Regions from separate parts of the Homo sapiens genome. Here regions 1 and 2 are each linked to region 3. Evidence: promoter capture Hi-C in 16 types of primary human blood cells and fetal thymus (Javierre and others, 2016). All regions are on one chromosome and are shown on one strand. The core of a region is centred on a gene start or on the middle of the fragment in contact, and the rest is flanking DNA. Distances in the headings are between cores, read along the strand shown. Region 1 holds the start of NELFB (negative elongation factor complex member B). Region 2 has its middle 3.9 kb from the start of BRD3OS. Region 3 holds the start of UBAC1 (UBA domain containing 1).

What was found. Contacts are between HindIII fragments. The CHiCAGO score rates a contact against its expected background, and 5 or more counts as called.
Region 1: a contact is called between the fragment with the promoter of NELFB here and the fragment with the promoter of UBAC1 in region 3, in 2 of 17 cell types (neutrophils and naive CD8 T cells). The highest score is 10.5, in neutrophils.
Region 2: a contact is called between a fragment that was not itself captured here and the fragment with the promoter of UBAC1 in region 3, in 2 of 17 cell types (neutrophils and fetal thymus). The highest score is 8.8, in neutrophils.

Annotation. Positions count from the first base shown.
Region 1 is chr9:137,253,981-137,256,680 of GRCh38, forward strand. NELFB (negative elongation factor complex member B) reads left to right here and starts at 1,347. Exons shown (of 13, transcript NM_015456.5): 1 at 1,347-1,631; 2 at 1,927-2,090; 3 at 2,349-2,448. The coding sequence starts at 1,386. It also overlaps a transcript of CIMIP2A not described here. RefSeq lists silencers at 715-894, 1,085-1,454, 1,465-1,644, 1,685-1,744 and enhancers at 755-1,702, 1,703-2,650. The HindIII fragment of the contact is 15,726 bases long and covers 1-2,700 here.
Region 2 is chr9:134,020,237-134,022,936 of GRCh38, forward strand. No RefSeq gene overlaps it. Among named protein-coding and RNA genes, the nearest start is that of BRD3OS, 3.9 kb to the right of the region's middle. The HindIII fragment of the contact is 3,675 bases long and covers 1-2,700 here.
Region 3 is chr9:135,959,955-135,962,654 of GRCh38, forward strand. It overlaps UBAC1 (UBA domain containing 1), which reads right to left and starts at 1,419. Exons shown (of 10, transcript NM_016172.3): 1 at 1,071-1,419. The coding sequence starts at 1,208. RefSeq lists silencers at 1,029-1,148, 1,159-1,568 and an enhancer at 1,039-1,539. The HindIII fragment of the contact is 10,703 bases long and covers 1-2,700 here.

The DNA.
Region 1 (2,700 bases), core at 97-2,596, 1.3 Mb after region 3:
TGCACTGCCCCTGCCTGCAACTTCGCCTGGCTGGGGCCTCCCTTGTCATCACTGGCCTGCCCTCCTACCCAGGGTCGGGCCCCAAGGCTGCCACCTTGCAGGAGCCTTACCTGCGGTGCCGTCACCCGCACCTCCCCAGGTCCTCCCCAGACCCAGGACCCAGACCAGGCCCAGAGCTCAACCCCTTCAAAAAGGCTCTGGGCAGCTGCTTCTGTGGCCTCAGCACCACCCCCTTTCTCAGAGAGGAATCCCAGGCTCAGGATTGTGTGTGTGCTGTGACCCTTGTCCTCCTCTGCCACCGAACCAGCTGGGGGTTGGATCAAGGCACTGGAACCCTCGCCCTAGGGCTGACCAACTTGGCCAGCGGCAAGAGAGCTGTGGTAGCCATGGCCTTGGGAGCTCGGCCCGGCTTGTGGGAACAGGAGCTCTGCTCACGGCTGCACCACCAGGCACCCCTGGTGAGACCCAAAGCTAGGAGTGGGAGCGGCAGGAAAGATGGAGCGATCTCCTCCAGCTGGGCTGAGGAGGGAGGGCTTCCTGGAGGAGGTGGTGGAGGAAGAAGCCTTCAAGGAAGAGCAAGAGTTTGCTGGGCAGCGGGAAAGAAATTTCTAGAGAAAATTTCAGCAGCGGAGACCGAAAAGAGAGAGGGTGTGTGTAGGGGGCTTGGCGCGGCACAGCCTGCGGGAGGGCGGCGGGCTGGAGAGGCGGGGAGGCCCGGGGAGCCCACCCGCCTGGGATAAGAAGGGACACTGTGGAACCTGGACTCTCCTTCACGGCTCCGCGGAGCTCGGTGGGCGCCACAGCCTCCCGGTGCCTGGGAGGGCGGCCGTCGCTCGCGCTCCCGCTGCGGGCCCGGTCTCCGCCAGGCCCCGGCCCCCTGAAGGCGCTCAGATCTCAGTTTTGGCGACAGCGCCGGGGTGGGCTTCGTGCCCGTTTCACGCGGAGGAACCCACGCTCAGGAGGGAGTCTGCGCCTGTGTCCGGCCCCTGCGGGGCAGAGGGGCGGGGAGCTCAACCCCCGGCAAAACGTCCCCGCTGCGCGTGGCTGCCGCGAGATCTGCAAGAGCGTTTTCCACGCTTATGTACACGAAATTCACTCGGCTGCGACGACGTCCGTTCCCGGAGCAGACGGACCCTGAGTCCGCCCCCCACGCCCTCACCCGCCCTCTTCTGCCAGAAAGCCCGGGCGCGGGCGGGACCGGGTGGGCGCATGCGCGCTGGGCTGGCTGGGCGGGGTCTCTCGCGCCGGGTGAGGGCGCTGCTCCCAGGAACCTGCGCGCGGCCCCGGCGGCGTTTCCCGGGGGCCGGTTGGCGGGCGGACCTGGGCGGTGCGGGGCGGAAGTGGGCGGCTGCGGGACGCGCGCGGAGTCGCGCGGCGGGCGGGACCTGGCCGAGCTGGAGGGCGCCGGGGAGCGGGGCTCGGGCGGTCCCCGAGGCCCGGCGGAGCGGGCTTCTGGGGTGTCTGCGGCGGCGCCGGGGGAACGGGCTGGGGATGGGGCGCCTAGCCGGGCGGTGGCCGGGGCCTCGGCCATGTTCGCGGGGCTGCAGGACCTGGGCGTGGCCAACGGCGAGGACCTGAAGGAGACCCTGACCAACTGCACGGAGCCGCTCAAGGCCATCGAGCAGTTCCAGGTGGGGCGGCCCCCGGGGCGGGGGGAGCCCAGTTGGAGGGCCGGGCCGCCTGCTCGGGAGTCGGGCCTGGCGGAGGCGCCGGAAGTTTTCCGGCTTTCTGCTGGTGGCTGAGTCCTGTTCTGGGGGTGGAGTCCGGAGCCAGCACCCCTTTGCTGGACGGCTGGGTGGCTTTCGGTGGCTGCGGTTACCGCCAGCACGGCTGGGAACACCTGGGTGCGTGCCTCCCTGTGCTCTCAGGACCTCGGGGTGCCCGGGCGCACTGGGCTGCGTTTGAGGTTTCTCTTGGCTTCCTCAGACAGAGAATGGTGTGCTGCTGCCATCTCTTCAGTCAGCCCTCCCCTTCTTGGACCTGCACGGGACGCCGCGGCTGGAGTTCCACCAGTCGGTATTCGATGAGCTGCGGGACAAGCTGCTGGAGCGAGTGTCAGCCATCGCTTCGGAGGGGAAGGCTGAGGAAAGGTGGGTCAGCGGGAGGGGTGGGCAGGTGAGATGTGCAGCCGGCCTCTCAGCCTTGGATCGACTCAGGGGCATTTATTGTCCTTTTGGCTCCACATCCTTGCTCCCAGAGGTGGCCTGGGCCTGTGTCTGAGTGACCCCTTGACCCATGTGTCCTGGGCGTGGAGGCTTGTCCTGGTAGCTGTTATCTGTGTAGGGACAGGCAGGTAGCTGCTGCGATTTGGCGCATCGCTGCACCATCAATCCTGTGAGTTGTTCCAGGTACAAGAAGCTGGAAGACCTTCTGGAGAAGAGCTTTTCTCTGGTGAAGATGCCGTCCCTGCAGCCCGTGGTGATGTGCGTCATGAAGCACCTGCCCAAGGTAGGGCCCTAACCCTAACCCTGATGGCGTGGACCGTCCGCCCACTCTCATGCCCTTGGTTAGTGGAAGTTCCGGTGGCCGCCTAGCTCCGGGAGCTTCCTGTGCTGCCTGCCCAAGTGCTGTCCATGGTGAGCTCTGTGCTGACTTCTCCCACATGAGCCGCGTGGAGACCGAACCTTAGCACTGGAGTTAGGGTGTGGGGCCCCTCCTGGGAAAGAGCTGTTGGTATTTAGCATGTCTGTCTGACATGCT
Region 2 (2,700 bases), core at 116-2,615, 1.9 Mb before region 3:
TCAGCCTCCCAAAGTGCTAGGATTACAGGTGTGAGCCACCTCGCCCAGCCCTGTCTTATTAATTTTAATAATTTGTCTGAGATTCTCCTGAATTTGTACTGTTAATTGAAAAAAGAACCCCACAATATCCATAAATACTCTGTTGCCCAGGCTGGAGTACAGTGATGCAATCATGACTCGCTGCGACCGCTGCCTCCTGGGCTCAAGCAACCCTCCTGCCTCAGCCTCCCAGGTAGCTGGGACTATAGGTGCCTTTCACCATGCCCAGGTACTTTTTGTAGAAATGGGGTTTTGCCATGTTGGCCAGGCTGGTCTTGAACTCCTGAGTTTAAGTGATCTGCCCGCCTTGGCCTCCCAAATTGCTGGGACTACAGGTGTGAGCCACTGCGCCTGGGTGACTTTCTTTCTCATAAAGGGTTACAGCCAGCAAGGTGGCCATCCCACAGGCTGGAAAATGTGCCTCTGAAGGAGGAGGGGTTGGGGCAGGAGCTCCATGCTGAACAGGTTGGCTAAACATACACATTCAACAGGTTATAGGAGGAGCTATGAATATTCATGAAGGTCCTGACAACATGCATACTGAACAAACATGCATGTAACATACAACTCATGTTCACCTTGGGGTGGAGACTTAGCATCAAAATGTACTAAAATTAGGCCTTATAGGCTGGGTGCAGTGGCTCGCGCCTGTAATCCCAGCACTTTGGGAGGCTGAGGTCTGGCCAATACGGTGAAACCCAGTCTCTACTAAAAATAAAAAAAAAACTAGCTGGGCACCGTGGTGCACACCTGTAGTCTTAGCTACTTGGGAGGCTGAGGCAGGAGAATCACTTGAACCCAGGAGGCGGAGGTTGCAGTGAGCCGAGATGGCACCACAGCACTCCAGCCTGGGCAATAGTGGGAGACTCCGTCTCAAATAAATAAAAATATATACATACATAAAATAAAATTAGGCCTTATAGTAAAAAGGTCTTTCCAGGACACAAAAGCACACAAGTATGCAGCCTCTCTGAACCAGCCGGAACCAATCCATAGTCAGTGGTCTTACCTGGAGAAAGTTGCTGAAATCAGTCTCTTGTTCAATGAAAGCTGTAGTTGGCTGGGCATAGTGGCTCACACCTGTAGTCCCAGCACTTTGGGAGGCCACGATGGGAGGATTGTTTAAGCCCAGGAATTTGAGATCAGCCTAGGCAACATGGCAAAACCCCATCTCTACCAAAAATACAAAAAGTAGCTGGGTGCAAACTCCACCTCCCGGGTGGACCTACTGGTACACCTAGTGGTGCACACCTGTAGGCCCAGCTACTTGGGAGGCTGAGGTGGGAGGATTGCTTGAGGCTGGGAGGTTGAAGCTGCACTCAGCCAGGATTGCACCACTGCACTCTAGCCTGGAGGACAGAGTGAGACGCTGTTTCAAAAGAAGAGAAAGCTAGTTATGGTGGGTGAATGGGGTCAGTTAGCATCTGGAGCTGGATGAGCTGCAAATCGTTTTAACATTGTTTATCTTGAGGTCAGTACTTACTTAGCTGCTAGAGAAAAGGAACAACCTCGTGGCAGTGAGAATAGAGTTTATTCTTTAATTGTAGAGGTGTAGGACTTAACTTGTGCCTGGCATGGCCCTAAATCTTATTAATTAATTAATTTATTTATTTTTGGAATCAGAGTCTCACTTTGTCACCCAGACTGGAGTGCAGTTGTGCCATCTTGGCTCACTGCAACCTCCACCTCCTGGGTTCAAGTGGTTTTCCTGCCTCAGCCTCCCAAGTAGCTGGGATTACAGGCATGCGCCACTATGTCCAGCTAATTTTTGTATTTTTTGTAGAGATGGGGGTTCACCATGTTGGCCAGGCTGGTCTCGAACTCTCAGCCTCAAGTGATCTGCCCGCCTTGGACTCTCAAAGTGCTGGGATTACAGATGTGAGTCACCATGCCCAGCCACAGGTCTTATTTATAATTTGGTATGTTATCGCCATAAAGAGTCTGTTTTTCAGTCTTCTATGTTTTCAGTCTTACATATTTTAACGCAAATGCTAGTGCCTTGTCTCTAAGTCACCAAAGGGAGGAGTTATAACGACATGAGTGGGCTCTCCTATCCCATCGTGGCTGGGAACTCAGTTTTAAGTTTTTTCTGAGGTCCCCTTGGCCAAGAGGGGATCCGTTCAGTCAGTGAGGAGTTTAGGATTTTATTTTTAGTTTATATTCCCTTCTTTTGGCCAAGATTTGCCAGAGATGGCATTGATGACCAAACTTTTATTTTGTCCTATATCGTTGCTGGGGCTGTGTGCTACCTGCACTGGGTCCATCTTGTCCCTTGGTGGGATCCCTATGGCCAAGAGACTTAGAGCCAAAAGACTGAAAGACAGCTAATTAAATGTTTTAGGACAGATAGGAAAGGAGATGGGCAGGCACTCATTCACCCTTAAAAACCTTTTGTGCAGCCAGGTGCGGTGGCTTATGCCTGTAATCCTAGCACTTTGGGAGTCTGAGGCGGGTGGATCACGAGGTCAGGAGTTTGAGACCAGCCTGATCAACATAGTGAAACCCTGTCTCCACTAAAAATACAAAATGAGCCAGGCATGGTGGCACATGCCTGTAACCCTAGCTACTCGGGAGGCTGAGGCAGGAGAATCACTTGAACCTGGGAGGCGGAGGTTGCAGTGAGCTGAGATTGCACCATTGTACTCCGGTCTGGGCGACAGA
Region 3 (2,700 bases), core at 169-2,668:
GCCTCTGACAGTTCCAGAACTCCACAGAACCATGCTCACAAAAGCAACTCGAAAGTACTGTATGCGAGCAGCTACTATGGTAAGAACTGAAGTTTATCCTTAGAGACCACACTCAGCTCAAGTGTAACGCACTCAACCTGTCAACACAGATACGTCGTAACTTATCACATGGAGTCGCCACTAGAAAATTGCAGCCTCCTTCAACCTAAATTCTGCCAAGCCCTCAGATCATGTCAGGTATAGACAGGAGGTCAGTCTGACACACAGACAGGCTTCTTAGCTGACCTTACTGAGTCCTTTAGAGACTCGAGAACTAGTTCCAAAAATCAGCAACCTAAGGAACTAAATACACAGGAGTATTTCAGGTGAATAAACTTTAAAAAGTGTCTCCGCGAGGAGACCCTACTCCTGGGACTTCTCTCTTGACCAATTTTACCTCTGCAGAAAAGCAGGGGCGCAGGGCCTTGTCCCGCAGCGGCACTATTTCAGGGACTCCAGCTAAAAGGCACAGTGGCCTGGGGCCAGCCAGGAAAAGAGCTCCAAGCAGCCGGCTCTGCGGGAAAGGGGAAGAGGAAGGAGAAGGGGCCTCTTCATGAAGGAGCCTACGTTAATTCTCAGCTCTCAAAGATGCTGCTGAAAAAAAACCTCACCCCAACAGCAAAAAGGTACAACTGCCGGAAAGTCCCGAGGCCCTGCTCCGTCGGCGACTTCACTCTCCAGGCCTCAGTTTCCCGATCTGCCCCTACCTCCCTGCGTGGCTGCAGAGTTAACTGAGAGGCTGGCGTGTACAGGGCTCGGCCGGGCGGCTGGCACGGGGCGAGCGCTTAGTGACCGGAGTCCGCCGGCCGAAAGGCCAGGCCCGGGACGAGCGTCCAGAGGTGTGGGATCCGAAAGGGGGAGAGTCGGGCAAACGGGCAGGAGGCGCTGCCTCCACCCCCGGAGGAGAGGGCCTGGGAGCTGCGGACTGGGCGGCGGACCCCAGGTCGGGGCGGTTCGGGGACTGAGGCGGGGTCCGCAGTCGGAGGGGTCCGGAGCGGGTGTTGGGGGCAGGGGAGGGGGCCCGGCCTTACGTGCTTGAGGCAGCGCTCCTTGAGCTTCTCCACCGAGGTGTCCTCGGTGGCCTCCTCCAGCCACTCGGCGCCGTCGGACGCGCAGATGTGCAGCCGCAGCACCTTGCCCGCGAAGATCTTCTCCTCCTGCACGAACATCCCGCCGCCGCCGCAGGGGCCTGCGCCCGCCACCCGGGCCCCTGAAGGTCACCGGGAAGGCGGGCGGGGAGGGGGCGGGGCCAGACCGCCCGCGCGCTCCTTCGCTGGGCCGCCGCCCCGCCCCGGCTCCCGTCGGCCGGGCCGCCGTCACTCTCCGCGGCCTCAGCGGTCGCCTCGCTCCCGCCGCCGCAGCAGCCGCCGGGGGCGCGCCGTCGCGGCCGCACCGGAAGTGCGTCACGGGCGCGTCTGGCGCATGCCGGGAGATGTGGTTCTCGGACAGGCGCCTCGCTCCCGCCGCCGGGGGCGCGCTGTGGCCACCGCAAAGGAAGTGCGTCACGGGGCGCGCCCGGAGCATGCCGGGAGCTGTAGTTCTCTGGTAGCTTCGTTCCTCCCCGAGCTGCAGGCGGTTCCCACCCGGGGCACTCACCACGTGGGACCTCATGGGTTCTAAAGGTAAAATACACGCTGGATCCCAAAGAAGTAACGGGAAAAAGGAATGTAAGGCATCTCGATAATGTTTTCATATTGATTACATGTTGAAATAATATTTTGTATCTATTGAGTTAAGAAAAATATGTCATTAAAATTAATTTCACCTGTTTCTTTTAACCTTTTTAAGATAGAATTTTAAATTGCCTACATGGCTGCTGTGATATTTCTTTTGCACTGCACTGCTGTAGAACGGAGGCTCTCCAAAGAACTTGGCTTTAACAAGCCTAGGTCTTTCTAATTCACACGCAGATCAGAGAGTCACTGTTCCTGCGAAGCCTAGGTTTGCGGGGCACCCAGAGGGGAGGGAAGCCGCCCTTGGTGCAGGTGATGCCAGGCAGACTCATTTTCTGTGGGGTGTGACAAAGAGTCTTTGCTTGGCCAAACTTAAGCAGGCTCCTGAACCTTCTACATCATCTGTACACTTCCTTGTAAAATCCAGTTTTAGCGAAGAGCCTTGATAAGTGAGTTTAGCAAGAACTCCCAGCCTCAATATCAGATCACCCTGGACGTCTGGTCAGGTTCCTCGTCCCCCAGGTGCTGTCTGATATCTCCAGCCTCTCTTCAGCAAGAACCCTGTCAGGTCGGTTTAGCCAGAACCGCCCACATCCCTGATGTTTTCTCCTATTAATTTTCCATTCACTGACCCCACCCACTTGCCCTTGCTGTATTGGGAGTTGAGCCTGACCTCTCTCCCCACTGCAAGCCCCCTTGGCAGTGGTCTCTGTACCTAGCTCAACAGTCCTGGATAACGTCTTACTTACCATGCTCCTAAATATGAATTTTGTAGTTCAGGTTAGACCTGACACATTGACTGATCTGTACTCATTCATCCCATTCATTTAAAAAAACTTTACTGCGCAGAGATGAATAAGGCACAGTTCCCGTTCTCAGAGGTTAGCAATCTAACCGGGGAGGCTGTCTCTGCCTCCTGCCTGCAGGCTTTTATTCTGTCCACACCATTTTGCACACACATCCTCATTTTTCTCCTGTGATAATTCCA